Linked DNA regions of Homo sapiens: regions 2, 3 and 4 are each linked to region 1. The links are contacts of gene promoters, found by promoter capture Hi-C in human tissues and cell types (Jung and others, 2019). All regions are on one chromosome and are shown on one strand. The core of a region is centred on a gene start or on the middle of the fragment in contact, and the rest is flanking DNA. Distances in the headings are between cores, read along the strand shown.

Region 1 (5,515 bases), core at 816-3,315:
TGCCTTTGGCCAACAGAGCAGGGAGCTGATAGCATAGGGATTTTCCTGCCCCTGTGGGCATGCACACAAAGACGTCCTTGTTACCTGAAAAAATACAAGACAACAATATCTCAGTGCTTCCTGCCTTTTCATTGAAGTTGTTGAAAATTAAATGAGAATGTAGGAAAAGCACCTAGCAGAGTGTCTGGCACATGGGAGGGTCTCGATGTAATCCTAATTCCCCTCCTGTCCTTTCTATGAAAAAGGCAAGGATCCTGGGAAACTTGGATACATGCCCAAACCATTTCTAGTAATGGTTAAAAACAAGATTTAAAAAGTCTGGGTCAAGCGCAGTGGCTCACGCCTGTAATCCCAGCACTTTGGGAGGCTAAGGCAGGCAGATCACGAGGGCAAGAGTTTGAGACCAGCCTGGCCAACATGGTGAAACTCTGTCTCTACTAAGAATACAAAAATTACCCAGGCATGGTGGCACGTGCCTGTAATCCCAGCTACTCAGGAGGCTGAAGCAGGAGAATTGCTTGAACCCAGGAGGCGGAGGTTGCAGTGAGCCGAGATCGCGCCACTGCACTCCAGTGTGGGCGACAGAGCAAGACTCTGTTTCAAAAAAAAAAAAAAAAAAAAAGAAGTCTGAGTCTGCTGTGATATGGATGATTGAACTAAACAGCCATGAAAGCAGAGTACTGCTAGATGAGTGGGTACATCTGTGTAGACATGAGAGGACATTACTTAGAGGGCTTTTGTTTAGACATGTATCATTAATATTACATTGCTGCTCGCCTCTTGGCAACTTCCATTTGTCACCGTATCTCAGGTTTATAACATTATTACTCTTTCCTTCTCTATCTGGGACCAAGGCCACTCAACCTGCAACAAGGGAATTACCTAGGAGGCCAGTGACCGAGTTAAGTTATTCCTACCACCCTCACTGTTGCTGTTCGTTTGTGTGTACAAACGAACAATAATGAGAATCTGAAGTGTTTTCAAAGACCATGTGTAAATCTAGCTATGAAATATAGACCAGCTGGGTGGTTCTGCCACTAAAACTACAAGCTTTGGGCCGGGCGTGGTGGCTCATGCTTGTAATCCCAGCACCTTGGGAGGCCGAGGTGGGAGGATTGCCTGAGCCCAGGATTTGGAGACCAGCCTGAGCAACATGCCAAGACCCCATCTCTAATTAAAACAAATAAACGAAACTACAAGCTTTGACAACTCTAAAGATTTCCAAATCCAGTTATGGACCAAAGGTGAGGCAGTACGAAGGGTGAGGAGGAGGGTGTTCTGCCGCAGCGTTATGGTATAGCCAGCATAAATTTAAAGGAAGGTAGCTTGGTAATGTTACCTTTTACTACAGCCATGGTCGCACTCTCCTGTAAAGGCGTCTTAAAAGAGTCAAACCCAAAGACCTTCTTCAGCGTACTCCGGACTCGCCGCTCAGGGTCAAAAGGAAAGGTGGTATGGTGGCTGCTCATCTTAGCCAAGAACAGTGGCCAAAGGTTAAGGCAAAGGTAGTAAAAGGTTGCCACGAGAACCCTCTGTTTTGCATTAAAAATACAGATTATTTTTCTGTAACAATTTGCTATATTACACTTAAATAATGTATTATTTTTAAGTAATAAAGCTGAAGGTGAACTGCCTCAAGCAATACATTCCTCAGTAATTAACATCTCCACTTTTACGCTCAATGAAAATGAAAACATTGAACTATTCCAGGCCACGGTATAGCACAGAGCTAGAAATCAGATCAAGAGAAGAAACATAAATGTCTTCAGAACAGCTTGGAGAACGGGGAACCGTTTTCCTAAGATCCACCACCTGCTCCTACTTCTATAAGCGCAACCACGACGACCGTTCTTCCACCCCGGGACCCCGAACCCCTTCTCCCGTCTTCCTGAGCCCAAGATCCGCAATTTTCTCTCTTGGCTGGCCGACACCTCCCTCTCTTCACCCTAAGATATCAGAACCGGCCGTGGTCCGCCCAAGAATTAAAGGCTGCTGGCTGGTTCCGGAACTGTTCGAAGACCCCTATACACAACCCCAACTCAGAGAAGCCAAAGCGCTGGGAATTCAGCTTTAGGCAGAACCCACGCAATCTTATATCCGTCGCGCAGTGATGACGTAGCGCGAGCGCTGGCATGAGGGCGGAGCCAGGCGCAGGAAACTGCCGTTTTGATTGGTTTCCAGTGTGGCGCGGGGGTCTCCTGGGATCCGAAAGAACCTGCCTTTCCGCCCGGAAGTCGGCGTCTTGAGTCATAGGAGTGAGCCACGCCCGGGCTGTGGGAATAAGATGGCGGGGAAGAAGAATGTTCTGTCGTCTCTCGCAGTTTACGCGGAAGATTCAGAGCCCGAGTCTGATGGCGAGGCTGGAATCGAGGCGGTGGGCAGCGCGGCTGGTAAGGCCCAAGTGCGAAGCTGGAAGGGGGAATCGGGTGTCTGCCCGGAATGCTGTACCCTCGCTGGGCGGGAGGGAACAAGATGGTCATTGTGCTCCAAGCACCGGACCCCGAAGAATGGTCCAGGGTCCGGGGTGAGATAGAGCATTAGAGACTGTGGACTAAGAATGAAGAATCTCCTTCCCGTTATTTCGATTAATTTGCCTAAACTTACTGAAAGACTCCGTGCCGGCTATAGTGATAGACAGAGGGATGGACGAAGAGGGAGCGGCTGCTCAGCCACTGCCTGTTTCCCCTGGGCTCGTTGTTTGATGAGGGAGAGCGATAAGTAAAACATACGTGGAAGATGGTAAAGATTGTGTTCGTTAACTTTATAACTTTTAGTTAGGAATGTGCCCTAAACACATCTTGGAGCTTTTAAAAACAAACGTATCTGATGCCCAAAGTGAGAGAACCTAATTCGGTAGAACTGGGGTAGGATGTGGGCATTTGTGAACTTTTTAAGGATCCCAGGTGATTTTTCTTATTTTGTGAGTTTTTAAAGCCTAACGGTGATGTTCTCCTCCTCAGGTTGAGAAGCACAATGTTAGATAATGGAAACAGATTCCTTTGGGAGAATAAAGAACAAGTTACCTAACAACATATCAGGACCTTAGCTTCCTCATCTGGAAAGTGAAGGGGATTGGATTAGGTTAGGTACTTCCATGTTTTGTGATTTTGTGTGGTCTCTTCCAGTCAGAAAGTTCTCTGATGGTTTCCTATAAACACTTTAGTGTTTATCTAGTGTTTATAGCATTAGAAACAGAATTTAGTACTCGGTTTTGTTCCCTGACCTTTTAATGATTTTATTCAGTAAATGCTGGCCTTCTCAGAGAGCCGAATCTGGGCCTATTGTAACTTAACATGAGATTTAGGTTCCCTTTGTATCTTCAGAGATAGTCTTGGCCACTCAAATCTCTGGACATTTTTTCTTACATTGTAACTCTTGTTTTTTTTTTCTTGCTTTTTGTTTGTTTGTTTGTTTTTTAACCTTTCAGAGGAGAAAGGCGGATTGGTATCTGATGCCTATGGGGAGGATGACTTTTCTCGTCTAGGGGGTGATGAAGATGGTTATGAAGAAGAAGAAGATGAGAACAGTAGACAGTCGGTAGGTAAATCTCCCAGATCCAGAGCTACTGAAAGCACAATTTCATTTGTCAGATTTTGGAACTGTGCCAACAGTGTTCCATTTCATGGTTAGCTCCATCCCTTGCTCTCCCGTTTTGTTTTAGTATTAGTGGAAGAAACTGGATTGGATATCAGATCTGTTTGAAAATGTATTTTCACATGGATCATTTTTTATTAATCTTTGAATTGAAATTTGGGGGAAAAGATAGTGGATTATTTTATTTAACCCAGATATCAATGGGTGTTTTATGTTGATTTTTCCCTGTTTAAATGATTTACTCCATTTATAGCAGGCATTCATCCTAACTGGTGTATCATTTATATCTACAGTCAACTCTGCATTATTTTTAATCTTGGTTGGGGCTCATTTAAGTCTTCTCAGTTTATTAACAAGATAAGAAAGGAAAATTCGTTTTCACCTGCTTTTTCTTTTCTTTTTTTTTTTTGAGATAGGGTCTCACTCTGCTGTCCAGATTGGAGTGCAGTGGTGTGATCATAGATAGTTCACTACAGTCTTGAACTCCTGGGCGCAAGTGATCCTCCCACCTCAGCCTACCCAGTAGCTGGGACTACAGGTGGGCGCCACCATGCCTAGCTAACCTATTATTATTTTTTTTTGTCGGAATCTTGCTCTGTCGCCCATGCTGGAGTGCAGTGGTGCGATCTCTGCTCACTGCAACCTCCACCTCCCAGGTTCAAGCAATTCTCCTGCCCTCAGCCTCCTGAGTAGCTGGGATTACAGACACCTGCCATCACGCCTGGCTAATTTTTGTATTTTTCACAGAGACGGTTTCACCATGTTGGCCATTCTGGTCTCTAACTCCTGACCTCAGGTGATCCACCCGCCTCATCCTTCCAAAGTGCTGGGATTACAGGCGTGAGCCACTGCTCCTGGCCGATTTTTAAAATTTAAAAAAAAATTTTTTGTAGAGACGTTGTTTCACTATGTTTCCCAGTCTGGTTTCAAACTTCTGGCCTCAAGCAATTCCCCTGCCTCACCCTCCCAAAGTGCTGGGATTACAGGTATGAGCCACCATCCCTGGCCTTCTTAACTTCTTTCTTGACATTTTATTTGGCACTTTTTATAATGGTGCCCTTAGTTCTTGATCACAAATCTTGCCTGAAGTTCAGTAGGTGCTGGAGAAAGGAGAACCTGTGCTATTATTAACAAGAAAGTCTTTAGACACATAATCACCTGAGCAACATGAGCCAGAATTTAAGTTTGCAGAAAACGCAAGGAAATTGAAGTTGGTGCTTAGCATAAGACAGGCAGAGTTGAGTCTAGATGTCAAATCTGACTGCTTAGCAAGTTTTAATTAAATCACTTAAAATATATTATTTGTTTGAAATTTTTGTTACATGTTGGTATGTAAATGTTAGCATTAAAATTCTTTCCAGCCAAGCACGGTGGCTCATGCCTGTAATCCCAGCACTTTGGGAGGCTGAGGTGGGCGGATCACAAGGTCAGGAGATCAAGACCATCTTGGCCAACATGGTGAAACCCCATCTCTACTAAAAATACAATAATTAGCAGGGCATGGTGGTACGCACCTGTAGTCCCACCTACTCGGGAGGCTGAGGCAGGAGAATCGCTTGAACCCGGGAGGCGGAGGTTGCAGTGAGCCGAGATCACGCCACTGCACTCCAGCCTGGGCAACAGAGCCAGACTCCATCTTAAAAAAAAAAAAAATTATTTCCACAACAAACAGAAATGCGTTTTGTACATGATGCATTTTGGGAGATACTTTCATGCCTTTAGCCCCATCCATTAATATTGATAATTCAGAGTTGACTGAAATTATTCAGAAAAGTTTTGCAAGTTGTTTTCTGACTTTTCTGAAGTACACACATTCTGGCTTAATATTCATAACTCTTTTCTTTAGTACGTTTGCATAATGTGTTTTTGAAGTGTTATTTCATATTTGCTTTGCTTAGAATTTTCATCATGTTTAAGCTTC
Region 2 (5,515 bases), core at 1,445-3,944, 410 kb before region 1:
TCCCTAAAGAGAATGCCGGCGTTTTAGCACTGCCTTGTATCTTTTTTTTTTTTTTTTTTGGAGACGGAGTCTCGCTCTGTCACCGAGGCTGGAGTGCAGTGGCACAATCCCAGCTCACTGCAAGCTCCACCTCTCGGGTTCACACCATTCTCCTGCCTCAGCCTCCCGTGTAGCTGGGACTACAGGCGCCCGCCACTACGCCTGGCTATTTTTTTGTATTTTTTAGTAGAGACGGGGTTTCACTGTGTTAGCCAGGATGGTCTCGATCTCCTGACCTCGTGATCCACCCGCCTCGGCCTCCCAACGTGCTGGGATTACAGGAGAGTTCTTCATCCACTCCAGCATCACCTCCATCCAACTAAAGGCAAAATCTTCTTAAACTTCCTAACTCCTATAACACCCCACGTAGCAGGTACTCATTAAACATTGATTGATTGATCATGGTGGGACTTGAAAGAAGACTGAAGTCATCAAGAGATGGTTTGTGAGAAAAGAGAATCTGAGATGGGTTTTCAAGCATTTAGTTGAGGAAACGGGAGCAGGGCTTCCAGGTAAGGAGAGCAACGTGTATTGGTAAACCAAGAACATCAGACTGAGTAGAGCAGGAAAACGTAGAAGCCACAGAGAAAAAGGCCTGGAACAACCAAGGCCAGATTACAGGCAACAGTGGAATGATTTGATTCAACACAAGTGCGCTTCTGGGAGCAGAATGGACTGAGGAGAGGTGAGGACGGGAGAGACCTGGGTCTCTGGGCCAAGCAGAGGCTTCTGCAACAATTCAGGCAAACGTGGGGTGACAAGGACGCTGACTGAGACGATGCTGAACCCCAACTGCTGGTTTGTTCAACTGGTACAGTTCACATTAAGTCGTAACAACTGTGAAGCTTATGTCTCTACAGATACCATGTGACTCCCCCCCACCAAGTGTGTCCCTCTCATTTCATAATGTGACTCTAGGCTGGGTGCGGTAGCTCACGTGTGTAATCCCAGCGCTTTGTAAGGGAAAGGTGGGAGGATCACTTGAACTCGAGTTTGAGACCATCCTGGGCAACACAGCAAGACCTCATCTCTACTAAAAATCAAAAGAATTAGCCAAGCATGGTGGCGTGTGCCTATAGTCCCAGCTACTCAGGAGGCTGAGGTAGAAGACTTATTTGAGCACAGGGGTTCAAGGCTGCAGTGAGCTATGATCGCACCCCTGCACTCCAGCCTAGACAACAGCGCGCGAGACTCTGTCTCAAAAACAAGTAACAAAAACAAAATGTAACTCTAAATGTAGCCTATTAAACTCAGCTTAGGTCATTTAAATTATTCAATACCCATATTAATACCTTCAAAGCAAACTAATTCCACTCTGGTTATAGCAAGTTGGGCATTTCTGGGCAAGTGGTTTGACTGGAGTCAGGATGTCCTCTTTTTGTGAAATTATGGCAGTAGTGCCTGCTTTGCTAGAATACTTGGTAAACTAATTTAATGAATATCTGTAAAGTACTTTGAGCTCCTTGGAGAACACTTCCATATATAAAGAAGCCTTATGACCTGCCTGCAACTGCAGATTTTGCAAACGTGATCTTACTTTTTCTCTCTTTTGGGATATGCTCCCCTTTAAACTGAAGCTCAACCTCCTGAAGGGGGTTTCTTACTAGGAAAAATCAGACAATTTGAGGAAATAGCTATCACCTCCAAGATCCCGGAAGCAGTACTAAATAAGAGACCTCAGAACAAGGCAATACTAGGTATCTCACCTATCCCATTACCAGTCCAATTTCTCTCTCCACTTAAAGGAGGCTTCCAGGTCTAGCCTACAGGAAAGTTCACTTATTAACCCTCAGGCAGAGTACTACCTGCTAACCAGGTTAACACACATTTCCTTCGTAGCACTGTAATTCACAGTGCAATGACAGCAATACGCTTCTATAACTACAGCTTCAGACTGTGCTCCTCAGCCTTACTCAGAATAGGCTATCAACACTGACTCGTTAGGATATTCAAGGGGGTATATGTATGTGTGTGGGGGGGGAATTCCCGACACCGATTTCACCATGCTTCTGTGGTCACTGCAGGAAAAAGGTAGAGCTCTCTGTTCTCTATCATCGCTCTCTTTGGAATATTATTCTCACTTCAAGCATTCTGCCTGAGCGAAGCCGTCACTTCTCCAACACATGGTCACAATTCTGAAGCTGCCAGGCGACTGAACGCAGTCGGCAGCACCCACCACTACCGGAGACTCAGCCCCAATCCGAAGCTTCTCCCTTAGTCAGGGATTGGGGCGCTGGGTTCCTGGTGTCACCGCCGGGCGGCGACCCCACCACAATCTCCCCAAAGCGCCGAAGCATGTCAGCCCGAAGATCTTGGCTGTCGCCTTTCCCCGAGCCTGCGGTGCCCGACAGGAGCCCGAGTTCACGCCGCCGCGCGCCAGAGCAAGAGGACGCGCCGCAGCGAGGGAAGCGGGGGCCGGACTGGGGCCCGGCGCCCTGATAGGGAAGGGGCGTGATCGCAGGCTGCTCGCGGCGAGGGCGAGACCGGGCGTGGGCTGCCAAGAGGCGACGCCGTGGAGCCCGGGGAGGGGACGTGGGGGTGAAGACAGGGGCAGCCCAGCGGCTCGAGGGCAGGCAGAAACGGCCGCGGCTACTCACTGAGCCAGGACTCCAGGCTTTCCCCTTCCGCCTCCGCCATATTGCAGCCGCCCGGCCCCGCGGCTTCAAAACTCGCGAGAGTCTGCACGAGCTGAGACGGGGCGGGGCCTGCATGGGGTCCTGAGAGGAGTGAGTGCCGTCACCGAGGGCCGCGCCAGACTGCGACGGATACAGGGAGGGCAAGGGTTTCCTTTTGGCGCTCCCCTTTGGACCCCGGAGTGAAAAACTCTAACGTCCAGATCAGTGGAGAGAAACGCAGATTTAGGACCCTGAGGAGTCTTTTTCACCCGTTTCCCGTCACTCGCTCAGGCGCGCCGAGGGCAGTCCTTGTGGGGTCCTCGTGGCCAGCCAAGATGGCTGCCCCCGCAGTGAAGGTTGCCCGAGGATGGTCGGGCCTGGCGTTGGGCGTGCGGCGGGCTGTCTTGCAGCTTCCAGGGTGAGAGGGTGGCGAGCAGCGGCGGGGGGGCGCTGCGAGGAAGGAAGGGGGCCACAGGCAGGCCGCGTGGGCCCCTAGAGAGAGCATTGCCCTGGGGGCCGGAGTATCTGGATTCAAGCTTCTAAGTTAGCTGCGTGACCCTGCGCCAATCCGAAGGTTTAGTGACTACCTCTCGCCTAAGGAGTCTGGCTGATCTAGGGTTCTAACGCGGAGCTGAAAGTGCGGTTCAGCTAAAGAGCTCAGATCTGGGATCGCCTGTGAATTGGGATGGGTGTGTAGGCGCCAAGCCCATCCTTACCGTTAGCACTTGACCAGGAGGAGACTTTACCCGCCTGCTTGGGGAATGTCCTCCTACTTGGGACAAGGGCCTGAATTGTTGTGGCTCAGGTTTAGCTCGCGGTCTCCGCGCCGCTCCCCCTCGTCGGCGCGTTGGCAGTCATGCCTATTGTTAAGTCAAACCTACTCGCTTGTGGAGTCAGCTTTTGCCTGCCTCCTCCTTTCCCCCCCTCCCAGGCTAACTCAGGTGAGATGGAGCCGCTATAGTCCTGAATTCAAGGATCCCTTGATTGACAAGGAATATTATCGCAAGCCAGTGGAGGAGCTAACTGAGGAGGAGAAATATGTTCGGGAGCTCAAGAAGACTCAGCTCATCAAAGCTGCTCCAGCAGGGAAAACAAGTTCTGTGTTTGAAGACCCAGTCATCAGGTTAGATGGAAACAAACACTTGTTACATGGACTGGGACTATCCCAGGGAGGGTTTCTGGTGAGGATTCTGTGATACAGCCTTGGAGAGCTAAACGTGTTGCTTTTCTCTTTGAAGTAAATTCACCAACATGATGATGATAGGAGGAAACAAAGTACTGGCCAGATCCCTCATGATTCAGGTAAACAGCACTTCCCTCCTCAGTCATCTTTCTTGCCCCCCTACCCCGTAGCCTTGTACTTGGTACTTTCAGTGTAGCTTAAGAGCAAATGGATTCATGTATCTATTATTCAGATTAACTTCCCTGCATGTGTACGGGCTTTAATGAAGCCCTGTAAGAGTCAGCAACTGCCATTCCTTGGTGTTTCGGAAGTAAACACACAATTAAAAAAAAAGGAACAAATAAAAAATAAAACAACTGCCATTCCCCACCTCACCCCCCACCCCCTCCATGCCACAAATCTCAATCCACTCTTTCTGTCCTAGTCTAGCAAAGGGGGAGGCACTTAAAAACTTTGTTTTGGATGTGCTGTGAGAGGAGCTGCATTGCCAGCGCAGAACCAGAGGATGGGAGTAAAGGGCAAGGTACTAGCTTGGCTGGGTAAACCCTTTAGGGAGCCTGGGGCAGCCTCTTCCACCATATTCTTTTGCAGACTCTGGAAGCTGTGAAAAGGAAGCAGTTTGAGAAGTACCATGCCGCTTCTGCAGAGGAACAGGCAACCATCGAACGCAACCCCTACACCATCTTCCATCAAGCACTGAAAAACTGTGAGCCTATGATTGGGCTGGTACCCATCCTCAAGGGAGGCCGTTTCTACCAGGTGAATGAATGGCCAGGGCAAGAAAGCAGGGCCCTCCACATGTGAAACAAGATAGGTGGTGCTTGGGAGTTGGGTCAAGATTGATAGCTTTCTAGCTGGTGCAGTGGGATTGCACCTGTAATCTCAGCACTTTGGGAGCCTAATGCAGGATAGCTTGAGCTCAGGAGTTAAGAGACAGCAGGGCAACATAGGGAGATCCCGTCTCTACAAAAAAAACAAAAAAATTAGCCAGGTGTGGTGGTGTGCATCTGTGCTCCCAACTACTCAGGAGGCTGAGGTAGGAGGATCACTTGAGTCCAGGAGGTCAAGGCTGCAGTGAGTTATGATTACGCCCCTGCATTCCAGCCTGGGCAAGAGAGAGAAACCTTGTCTCAGAAAAAAAAAAAAAAAAAACGGCTGGGCACGGTGGCTCACACCTGTAATCCCAGCACTTTGGGAGGCCGAGGTGGATGGATTACCTGAGGTGGGGAGTTCGAGATCAACAAGGAGAAACCCTGTTTCTACTAACAATACAAAATTAGCCAGGTGTGGTGGCACATACCAGTAGTCCCAGCTACTTGGGAGGCTGAAGCAGGAGAATCGCTTGAACCCAGGATGCAGAGGTTGCAGTGAGCCGAGAGCACACCACCGCACTCCAGCCTGGCAACAGAGCAAGACGCCATCTCAAAAAAAAAAAAAAAAAAAGAATTGAGACTGTTACGGTCCACTCATCTGAGTCCTGTAGCGTAAAAATTATAGGCAGAAGGTGGAAGAGAGTGAAGAAGTATCTAAGTGACATCTGGGAGCCCACCTCCCTTCGCCTTCTTCTGTCAAGCATCCTGTGTGTCCTAACCTGTAAAATTCTCATGGCGAGGGACTATTCATATCCTGTCTTTGTATGCCAGTGTTTGGCATAGTGCTTGACCGATAACTGATGCTT
Region 3 (5,515 bases), core at 777-3,276, 340 kb before region 1:
CTGGATTCAAATGATTCTCTGGCCTCAGCCTCCCAAGTAGCTGGGACTACAGGTGTGTGCCACTATGCCTGGGTTATTTTCTATTTTTAGCAGAAACAGGGTTTCACCATGTTGGCCAGGCTGGTCAGTTCATTTTTGAAATGGAAAAGTCTCACGCTTTACATCAGTTATAAATGGGAAATGGTGGCTGGAAGCAGTGGCTCCAGCCTGTAATCCCAGCACTTTGGGAGGTCGAGGTGGGTGGATCACCTGAGGTCAGGAGTTCAAGACCAGCCTGGCCAATATGGCAAAACCCCATCTCTACTAAAAATACAAAAATAAGCCGGGCGTGGTGTCAGGCACCTGTAATCCCAGGTACTCGGAGGGTGGGGCAGGGAGAACTGCTTGAACCTGGGAGGTGGAGGTTGCAGTGAGCTGAGGCATGCCATTGGACTCCAGCCTGGGGGACAGAGCGAGACTCTGTCTCAAAAATAAGTAAATAAAATAAAAGGAAAATGGTTTTCTATCCCCCATTCAAAAACAAAACAATCTTAATGTAATCTAAACTAAGTAGTGATCTGAGTGTTGAATCTAATTACTTCTTTATATATAACTGATGAAGTGATCTGCCGGACTCCTGGGGAGGGTCCTATGATAATACATTAACTAGAAAATAACTGAAAGTAAAAAACATGGAAATAACAATTTAATTCAAAATCCCGACTTCACAGCTGAGGTGTGAATTGTTTAGAATCTTCAAGTGCTGGTTTCTATTCTCCACACTCTCCATGGCGGCAGAACTTCCTGTCTTCTCCATTCCCTGCTTACCCGCTCCCTTTCACACCTGAACTTTCCACCGGGGAAATGCAAGCCCCACATCCCCTGCAGCAGCCTTCTTAAGTGACTGTGAGGGCCTAGGATGGGGCTGGTTGATTTAAGTCAGTGGACCTGAGCAAGGCAAGCCAAGGCAGCCGACAGGCGCTCCACTATCCCATTAGAGAGAGCTGCGGGAATCCCTTGGAGGGCAGAAGCTCAGGAGTGCTGGGCACTAGGGAAAACTGGCAGGCTCCAGCTGGCTGCAGGGAGCTGCTGCTCACCTCCTGAAGGCTGTGTCCACATGGGAATCTACATCCAGTGCTTCTAGAACTCATTTTGAGAGGAGCCAGAAATTAGGATTTTAATGTGAAATGAAGAAACTGTTTAGGCTAAGCCTCCACCATTTTGTGTGTAGCCAGGCACCTGACCAACGGCTTCACAATTTGGATCAGTCAGAGACAGGATTCCAGGCAACTGCAGCAGGAAATACTTACTTGACAGAGAGGGAGAAGTCCCCAGGAGCGCTCTCACTCTCTCGGATAAGAAAGGCCCCATCGTGCCGCTGTTTGCTAAGCATTTCTTCTGCCTTGGCTCTGGGGATTTTGCCAAAAAACCACCTAAGGAAGGAAGGCAAGCTGGTCAACATCTGCTTCCCCACAAAGAAACGGGATATCCAGCCTTCAAAATGTGAGTAACACAACACTCCTTGCCAGAGGAAGGGGCCTCCCTCCTCATCCTCCAGCCTCACAGTGCCCAAGATCGACACTGGGTTGGGTCCCCAGAGATGGACCTTCAAAGGTCTTTAGCCTACTCCATTTCCCAGAAAGCGACTCACCAAGGCACTAACCGTGGGTCACTCTTTCTATAGAGGGAGACATTTGAAAATGGGCCCCCCAGGCCAAAGCCCACTGGACTCCCTACTGACTCATGACAAAGGCGCCTGGGGAAAAGCTCAGGCCTTTGGGCTTGGTGTACGGGATGAACTGCCAAGGAGAGACTGGCCCCTTCCTGCAGCCATGTGATAAGATCACAGCTTCACCACAGTGGGACTAAGGGAAAGTGGGGAGGAAACCTGGACGGCCAGGAGCTGGAGGCAGGGTTACTTTTGCTAACAGCCCAAAGGCAAAAGGTTCAGATAGTATGAGGGTGCCTCTACCAGTAACTAAGGTCAGCATTCCTCTCAAGGCCTGCCTCTGGGGCCACTGCTCAGAGTTCAGCTTTCAGAAGCCACCAGGAATATTGTAATTTACCATATGCTCAGCAGCTAGCTGCAAAATTCAGATTTTTGAGGCAAGTTGCAGACTCTTCTGCTCCCAATTGCTGATTCACCTTGGCCAGAAGAAAAAGTGGCTAAATTCATGAAAAACTGTGAAGCAACTGGCTGTGGCTTATCAAGAGGAAGAGGAGAGGAACACTTCTACAAGAGCTTCAAGTCAAGCTGCCTCACTATTTCAAATGAAAACTATAATTAGGAAGAAGAAACTGTGAAAACCATGTTCTCTTCTCAAAATTGTCTTTAGTTATCATTTTTAAAAGCAAAAGTTATAGCAAATAAAGACCTATAAACATGGAAACTGGCATTCATTTAATATGCTAATTATAATATCAAAAGTCCTTTTAATGGACCAAATAGTCCATTAAAGTTGTAAATCTAACTTACATATCTTTTCTTTTTTTTTTTTTTTGAGGAGTCTAGCTCTGTCACCCAGGCTGGAGTGCAGTGGCACGATCTCGCTCACTGCAAGCTCTGCCTCCCGGGTTCACGCCATTCTCCTGCCTCAGCCTCCCAAGTAGCTGAGCAGCTGGGACTATACATAGGCGCCCGCCACCATGCCCGGCTAATATTTTGTATTTTTAGTAAAGATGGGGTTTCACCGTGTTAGCCAGGATGGTCTCGATCTCCTGACCTTGTTGATCCGCCTGCCTTGGCCTCCCAAAGTGCTGGGATTACAGGCATGAGCCACTACGCCCGGCCCTTTTTTTTTTAGATAGAGTCTCACTCTGTCATCAAGGCTGGAGTGCAGTGGCACGATCTCGGCTCACTGCAACCTTCGCCTCCTGGGTTCAAGCAATTCTCCTGCCTCAGCTTCCCTAGTAGCTGGGATTACAGGCGGCCACCACCACGCCCAGCTAATTTTTGTATTTTTAATAGAGACGGGGTTTCACCATATTGGCCAGGCTGGTCTTGAACTCCCGACCTCGAGATCTGCCCGCCTCAGCCTCCCAAAGTGCTGGGATTAAAGTCGCGAGCCACCACGCCCGGCTAATTTACATATCTTACTTATAAGCAACCATATTGGAAGATGTACCTAAAATAATATACTATACTCAAATTCAAACAGAAAGATGTGATCTGCTAGGAAGGATACACTTAGAAGCTGCCCTTAGTAACTTTGTCCTTGTGTGTGTGTGTCAGCCTCTAGGGACTCTTAGTAACTCTGAATAGTCTGACATCTACCTGCTTGGAGTCTTTCTCATTTTGCATACTCTACTGCCAGGATGCTGAGGAGCTGGGACAATAGATCCTCCTGCTTCTACAAATAACTCAAGGCTAGGGCCTGCAGTGCCTGGAAATCAGGCCACACAAGAGAAATCACATATCACTAGAATAGAATGCTCTCTAAATATAAAAGGACAGGCTGGGCCCGGTACCTCATGCCTGTAATTGCAGCACTTTGGGAGGCTGAGGTGGGGTGAATCACTTGAGGTCAGGAGTTTGAGACCAGCCTGGCCAACGTGGTGAAACCCACTCTCTACCAAAAATACAAAAATTAGATGGGCACAGTGGTGGGCACCTGTAATCCCAGCTACTCGGGAGGCTGAGGCAGGAGAATCACTTGAACCTGGGAGGCAGAGGTTGTAGTGAGCCGAGACTGTGCCACCGCACTCCAGCCTGGGCGAAAGAGTGAGACTCTGTCTCAAAAAAATATATAAATAAATAAAATAAAAAAGGAGGCTGGGTGCGGTGGCTCAATGCCTGTAATCGCAGCACTTTGGGAGGCCGAGGTGGGCGGATCATCTGAGGTCAGGAGTTCGAGACCAGCCTGGCCAACATGGAGAAACTCCATCTCTACTAAAAATACAAAATTAGCAAGGCGCGGTGGCGCATGCCTGTAATCCCAGCTACTCGGGAGGCTGAGGCAGGAGAATCGCTTGAATCTCCGGGAGGCAGAGGTTGCGGTGAGCCGAGATCGTGCCATTGCACTCCAGCCTGGGCAACAAGAGTGAAACTCCATCTCAAAAAAATTAAATAGGCCGGGTGTGGTGGCTCACGCCTGTAATCCCAGCACTTTGGGAGGCCGAGGCGGGCGGGTCACAAAGTCAGGAGATCGAGACCAACCTGGCTAACACGGTGAAACCCTGTCTTTACTAAAAATACAAAAAATTAGCCAGGCGTGGTGGCAGGTGCCTGTAGTCCCAGTTACTCAGGAGGCTGAGGCAGGAGAATGGAGTGAACCTGGGAGGCGGAGCTTGCAGTGAGCCGAGATCGCGCCACTGCACTCTAGCCTGGGCGACAAAGCGAGACTCGCTTTCAAAAAATAAATAAATAAATAAATAAATAAATAAATAAGGACACTTAACGGTATTGAGACCTTCTCAATCGGGGGGCCCCAATCAACGGTATTTAAACCTTCTCATATCGGGGGGCCCTGGGTTTCTAATATAAGTGTATGCAGCATGCATCTGACTGGGTACAGCAGTGAAAATCCACACATGGCCTCGGCTGGCTCTCCCCACACTGCCCCACACTCCCCACCACTGCCACTTCCAATAGCAATGGTGAGGGTGAAGATTCTCAATCAGCAAGGCTCTCTTTCCTCCTAGGCCCCCAAGATCTCTCCACTAGGGAGGTTTTTTCCCATTTGTAGGTATAAAATAATGAATATAAACTGAAATAGCCTAGATGTACATGAAGCAAACATAAAAAGTAAGATGCTTCCCTCAAACTCCCCAGAGGCAGCACGTGTTGGCGGTTCTAACACTTAGGTTTCCAGACCTTTCTGTCTGGTGTCACATAGACATGGCTGCTGTGTTTTCTTGCCCCCAGCTTAAAATTAACGCAATTTTATTTTCAATTAAAAAAAATAAATTGTAGTGAAGTACAAATTATAATGTTTAAAAAGTACTCTAACTGGAATTAAAACCAAAAACCAAAAAAACCACAACTCTGTTATAAGCACCCAGATCAAGAAATAAAAAATCTGGCACCAGGTGCAGTTGCTCACGCCTGTTAATTCCAGCACTTTGGGAGGCTAAGGTGGGAGGATTGCTTAAGCCCAGTAGATCAAGACCAGCCCGGGCAACACAGTGAGACCCTGTCTCTACGAAAAATAAAAAATTAGCCAGGCATAGTGGTGCACAGCTGTAGACGCAGCAACTTAGGAGACTAAGGTGGGAGGATAACTTGAGCCCAACCTGGATGACAGAGCAAGACCCTGTGAATAGCTGTCACTACTAAAACACTGAAATACCACCATTCTACATTTCTATAGCATTTTATATCATTTATAAATTTGACTTTTTAAAATGATGATATGTACATGTGACTACATGCTTACGGGTGAATTTTTTTTATTTTTTATTTTTTGAGACAGAGTCTTGCTTTGTTGAATAGGCTGGAGTGCAGTGGCGTGATCTTGGCTTGCTGCAAGCTCTAACAGGCAAATGTTTTGAAAGTCTTTAAAAAGATGGGCTTTGGGCCGGGTGTGGTGGCTCACAC
Region 4 (5,515 bases), core at 1,270-3,769, 260 kb before region 1:
TATATATATATAAATATATATATATATACAGACTCTCAAAAGCCATTCAGTAATGGTGGAGAGTTCCTCTGAATTAAGCAAGTATTAATTTCTCTCCGGAGGGCATGGTGACTCTCTATTCTGTATTACTTCATTTCTCCAAAATCCATTCCTCTTCTGTTGTATGTGTAACAATTAGAACTCTGATGGACAACATGCAACATGATAACAGCAATTACTGAGAAGAATCTCTAAGTACCATCAACCAGTAGTATTTAAAACCCAGCAAGCCTCTCAAATCTGAATAACTTGCTGACGAAGTAAAGTGCCTCAAACATTTAAACGTTTGAGTTCAGGCCGGGCGCAGTGGCTCATGTCTGTAATCCCAAGGCTGAGATGGGCAGATCACTTGAGGTCAGGAATTCGAGACCAGCCTGGCCAACATGGTGAAACTCTGTCTTTACAAAAATACAAAAATTAGCCAGGTGTGGTGGTGAGCACCTGTAATCCCAGCTACTCGGGAGTGCGAGGCAGGAGAATCGCTTAAACCCAGGAGGTGGAAGCTGCAGTGAGCCGAGATCGCACCACTGCACTCCAGCCTGGGCGACAGAGCGAGACTCCGTCTCAAAAAAATAAAATAAATAAATAAATGCTTGTGTTTAGTAGAAGAAAGCTGATTATAAGAATTAACTCTGGCCGGGCGCGGTGGCTCACGCCTGTAATCCCAACACTTTGGGAGGCCAAGGCGGGTGGATTACCTGAGGTCAAGAGTTCAAGACCAACCTGGGCAACACAGTGAAACCCCATCTCTACTAAAAATACAAAATTCGCTGGACATGGTGGTGGGCGCCTGTGATCCCAGCTACTCGGGAGGCTGAGGCAGGAGAATCGCTTGAACCCAGGAGGCAGAGTTGCAGTGAGCCCATATAGCACCATTGCACTCCAGCCTGGGCAAAAAGAGCAAAACTCTGCCTAAAAAAAAAAAGTCACTGAGCTGACCCAATCTTCCTATTATAAAGACATACTAGAAGAAAACATAAGCAGGCACAGAAGCATAATCTTAAAAGAAAAAGAGTAAAAGACAAAAATAATACAAGCAAACCACACTTGCGACCTAGTGGCAGGACTGATTTCTTAGGGATGAATTCAATCTTTTGAGCCTCCCCGTTCTCAGAGAGGGGACTTCAGCCTCCCACGGCTCTCTAGCAACCCTTCTGGCTGACTGCAGGGAACGCAGGGGACGCGCAAAAGTAAAGGAACGAAAGCAAGGAAAGAGAGTCTCTTCCCGAGGAAAAAGACGGAATCTTGAAATGAGAGAAAACGAACAGCACGAAAGGGAAGAAACCTCGAAAAATTACGCCAGAGTGGGGACTACAAGGAGGAAGGGGAAGTACATTAGAAAAAAAGGGGGGGGTGGGGGGAGGAAGGGGCAAATGACTTGCATTACACAAGCATTTCGTGTCCCTAGTGGAAAGGACAGAAGCAGATAGAGAAGGAAGGAAATAACTGGAGAAAGAGGAGTAAGAAAGCCAAAATAGACTAATGCTAATTTCTCTCATGTGTCTGACATTTCGGAAAGTCAACAGCATCAAAAAGAGACAGACCTCAAGTGCACTTCAGTCCCCTGCAAACTGCACTTTCACAGCGTTTGAAGCCAGCCTTGAAAAACTTTCTAAACAAGCCATAACTCATGTGTGGCTTACAATCATAGAGAGGGCGCGCTGCAAATGAAAATTACCAGCGCCCGCTCTCGCCGCAATCCTTCCTCGGTGCAGTCCAACCTGCTACTGCTGAATTTTTCTTGACAAATATTTTTCAAATAGTTTTTTTTTTTAAGTGTCAGAATAAAGGTATCTCCCCCGGCTCCAGCAGCAAACGTTCCACCCCAAAGTGGATTCCCGCACAAAATTAAGCCCAAAGACGCCAGGAGATGGTGACGTGGTTGCCGTGCAGGTCGAAGGCACATCAATCACCACAGCTGCAGCCCACACCAGTCCCCCGCCGCCAGGCTCGGGTAGACTGACTCGGTCGGCGTTCGGCCCGCCTGGGCTTCCCGGGCCCCTTCCGTGCAAACCCTCCCGATGAAGGCAGGGGACCTCGCCAGAGAACCCCGACCTCTTCCCCCGGACTGCCCAGAGCCAAGAGCCGGAGGAGGACGGTCCCCAGGAAGGAAGCGCCCCAAAAGGGGAAACGTAGAGTCCGGAGCCCCGGGGATTGCGCTCCACGTCCCAAGCCTCGCCGCCCCGACGCGAACCCCGGGGCCGGTCCCGGTTCCCCCGGGGCCCACTCCCGCTGTAGAGCCAAGAGGAAAAGGCACGAGAGAGGCGCCGAGCGCAGCCTCCCGTACTCACCGTGGCGCAGCTGCTCCGCTCAGCGTCCGGCCCGCCCCTCCACAACGCTGCGAGCGGCCGGCGACCCCAAGGCTGCTCTGCGAGGGCAGCGCTTGCTCCCGCCGCCGTCACCGCCACAGGCACAGACTCTGCCACAGCCGCCGCCGCCGCTGCCGCCGCCCGGTCGCCGAAGCAGCAATACCTCCTGGCTTCCGCTCCCCGTCGGTGTCCCGCGAGAACTTCTCCACGAGGCCCCGCCCCGCCCCCGCGAGACTTCCCCCGGCGGAAAAGGCCCAGAGCGCAAGCGCTCCTCCTCAGCCGGGCCCCTGCGGGTAGGGAACCAGCTAGGTGTCAGGGCGCATGCGCCAGACCTCCCCGCAGCAGGTGGCCTCCGCACGGCTCCGCCCCCGGGTCGCCGTAACCCTCTCGGTGCCAGAGCGGGTAAATGACAGCTTAGCCCTGAAGGACTCTTCCCCCGTCTAATCACTTTATTTTCCTCTTCTACCAAACCTAGGCAGTTGGATGGGTAGGGGCTTGGGGGAGGAAGAGATCTTCCAGAATGAAGCACTCCAAATAGAGGACCAGGTCTTAAAATATTTGAGAATCCGGTCCGTACAAACTCTGCTGTGTTGAATGATTGGTGAGTTTGTTTGCTCATTGATTGAATCACTGCAGAGTTTGTACGGACCGGATTCTCCAATATAGGCCGAACACTGTGCTGGGGATAGAACAGAAATCTTGGCCCTTAAGGAATTCACGGTCTAGGAAGTAGAAGAAAAATAAACAAATAATGCCATAAGTACTGTTATAATTATTTGGAGTTTGCTGAGGAAGCTAAAAAAATGGAGGGGGTACTGCTACACTGCCCATTGCAGAAGAGCCTTCACAGATGTGATGCGGCGATGTCTGATCTGAGTCTTGGAGGATGAGTAGGAATTTGCCAGGCAGAGAAGCCAGAGTAAGGGCATTTCAGGGAAAGGGAATGGCACGTAAGTACAGAGGCTAAGTACAGAGGAACGGAGGCGTGAGAGAGAAAGTCGTGTTCTGTGCAGTGCTAAGTAGTTCAATTCCTGTATGAGGCCGGTGAGTACGGGGGAGTGGCAGAAGATGAGGCTTGGAGAAATAATTCTTATTTTTCAGTTCCCAAAGCTCTTCCAATTAAAGGATAGAACACAACACACCTAGCGTTACTGTGCCTTCTGGAAGCCAACAAAATAGCGCTGAGGTGAGAATAACCAAGCATCTGATTCTATAGAGAAAAGAAGCCCATTGAAACACAGAAAATGAATTGTGCTTTCACCAAGTATTTATTGAGCATCACCTGTGTGCAAGGGGCTCTGCAGGGTCAAAGACCAACCAGATGAAGCCCCTGCTTTCAGTGCTTTGTAATCTAGAGTTGCCTAATCTGTAAGACAAGCAGTTGGCCCCAAGTGCCACTGAACTACACATAGGGATGGCTGAGGAGGGAGCCAGTACTTGGTGCTGAGCTAATCAAGAAGGATTTGGTTTGAACGGCAAAGTGAAAGCAGGGAGGAAAGAGGAAAGAGTAATGGAATCAGCCTTTTGTTTTTTTTTTTTTTTTTTTTTTTTGAGACGGAGTTTTGCTCTTGTTGCCCAGGCTGGAGTGCAATGGTGCGCGATCTTGGCTCACCGCAAGCTCCGCCTCCCGGGTTCAAGGGATTCTCCTGCCTCAGCCTCCCGAGTAGCTGGGATTACAGGCATGTGCCACCACACCCAGCTAATTTTGTATTTCTAGTAGAGATGGGGTTTCTCCATGTTGGTCAGGCTGGTCTCAAACTCCTGACCTCAGGTGATCCGCCCACCTTGGCCTCCCAAAGTGCTGGGATTACAGGCGTGAGCCACCATGCCTGTTTTTTTGGTTTTTTTTTTTTTTTTGAGACTTGCACTGTTGCCCAGGCTGGAGTGGAGTGCAGTGGCATGATTTTGGCTCACTGCAACTTCCGCCTCCTGGGTTCAAGCATTCTCTCACCTCAGCCTCTCAAGTAGCTGAGATTACAGCAGCCTGCCACCACACCCAGCTAATTTTTGTATTTTTAATAGAGACAGGGTTTCGCCATGTTGGCCAGGCTGGTCTCGAACTCCTGACCTCAGGTGATCCACCTGCCTCAGCCTCTCAAAGTGCTGGGATTACAGATGTGAGCCAACACTCCTGGCCATCAACCAATGTTTTTGATTAGTCCAAGCCCCAGTAATTGGGGGGAAGAGTGATGAGAGAGAGGGGCCAAAATGCAAAATGCATGGCTTAGGTGTCATAGTCAAGTGATGGGCAACCTCTGAAGGTTTCTGAGCAGGAGGTGTCTGATATGAGGTGAAAATAAGAAAAGGACCCTCTATTTACCACTTGATGCATACTTAAGTCATAGCGCCTCCACAGGGTGGGTAATATCCCCATTTTACAGACTTGGAAACTAAGCCTTAGAGAGGTTAGTAATTTACCCAAGGAAGCCAAAATATAGTAGACCTAAGATTTGGACTAAGGCCTGTCTTGTTCTAAAATCCTCATTTTTTTCCCGCACTATGCCACTTTGTTCTAAAATAGCAGTCAGAAAAAAATAGAAATGGAAGGGAGGGACTTAGCTGCTAAGCAGAGAGGAAGACATGAGGGAAGAATTGCAGTTTTTTGTTTTGAGTGGGCCTGGATAACAGGGAGAACACAGAAATTTGCCAGTCAAGAGGCATAGCTGACTGGAGGGGGCAGGCACAGAGAACAGGGAAGGGCAGGTGAGGAGATGATTGTAAGGGTGAAGGGAATTTTTCCCTTCCACTCTGACAGTTTGAGTCTGCTGAAATAAACTGGCAATAGATTAACAGGAGAAAGCACATACAAATTTACTGACATGCAGTGTGCATGGTTACCATACAGAATATGAGACTCAGAGAAGAGCCAGGTGGCTGAAGCTTAAAGAGCACCATCTTTGCAGAGGAGAGGGAGATGAGCGGAGGTCAGCAATACTGAAAGGTAGTCAACTATTTTTAGGGAAAAGGAATGAGCCCAAACAATGCCTGGGACAAAGTTCCTCTGAGCTCTGGGAGCTGGAGGTTGTGACAAATTTCAGGAAGGTGAGGTGCAGGACTTCACTGTAAATAAAGGTTGTCTTATTATGCAGATAAAGTCTCCTAAATAATCTCAGCTGTCCTCAGGAGAATAGATGAAAAGTCTGTTTGGATGTGGTGACAACTTTTAG

What was found. Contacts are between HindIII fragments. The study calls those that stand out against the background at their distance.
Region 2: the fragment with the promoter of GGA3 here is called in contact with the fragment with the promoter of RECQL5 in region 1 in 1 of the 25 tissues and cell types used here (aorta).
Region 3: a fragment that was not itself captured here is called in contact with the fragment with the promoter of RECQL5 in region 1 in 1 of the 25 tissues and cell types used here (psoas muscle).
Region 4: a contact is called between the fragment with the promoter of GRB2 here and the fragment with the promoter of RECQL5 in region 1, in 2 of the 25 tissues and cell types used here (dorsolateral prefrontal cortex and pancreas).

What each region holds. Positions count from the first base shown.
Region 1 is chr17:75,665,089-75,670,603 of GRCh38, forward strand. It overlaps RECQL5 (RecQ like helicase 5), which reads right to left and starts at 2,066. Exons shown (of 20, transcript NM_004259.7): 1 at 1,956-2,066; 2 at 1,340-1,483; 3 at 1-84. The coding sequence starts at 1,469. It overlaps SAP30BP (SAP30 binding protein), which reads left to right and starts at 2,250. Exons shown (of 11, transcript NM_013260.8): 1 at 2,250-2,390; 2 at 3,428-3,537. The coding sequence starts at 2,285. RefSeq lists enhancers at 1,191-2,390, 1,972-2,071, 2,242-2,491. The HindIII fragment of the contact is 12,020 bases long and covers 1-5,515 here.
Region 2 is chr17:75,258,912-75,264,426 of GRCh38, forward strand. GGA3 (golgi associated, gamma adaptin ear containing, ARF binding protein 3) reads right to left here and starts at 2,695. Exons shown (of 17, transcript NM_138619.4): 1 at 2,637-2,695. The coding sequence starts at 2,676. MRPS7 (mitochondrial ribosomal protein S7) reads left to right here and starts at 2,968. Exons shown (of 5, transcript NM_015971.4): 1 at 2,968-3,072; 2 at 3,586-3,777; 3 at 3,893-3,956; 4 at 4,429-4,596. The coding sequence starts at 2,990. RefSeq lists enhancers at 2,101-2,200, 2,671-3,080, 2,877-3,754. The HindIII fragment of the contact is 1,153 bases long and covers 1,565-2,717 here.
Region 3 is chr17:75,324,609-75,330,123 of GRCh38, forward strand. GRB2 (growth factor receptor bound protein 2) reads right to left here. Exons shown (of 6, transcript NM_002086.5): 4 at 1,290-1,412. Among named protein-coding and RNA genes, the nearest start is that of SLC25A19, 38 kb to the left of the region's middle. RefSeq lists an enhancer at 2,271-2,771. The HindIII fragment of the contact is 7,256 bases long and covers 1-5,515 here.
Region 4 is chr17:75,403,159-75,408,673 of GRCh38, forward strand. It overlaps GRB2 (growth factor receptor bound protein 2), which reads right to left and starts at 2,520. Exons shown (of 6, transcript NM_002086.5): 1 at 2,331-2,520. MIR3678 (microRNA 3678) reads left to right here and starts at 2,911; the gene lies at 2,911-3,004. RefSeq lists a silencer at 2,578-2,757. The HindIII fragment of the contact is 9,537 bases long and covers 1-5,515 here.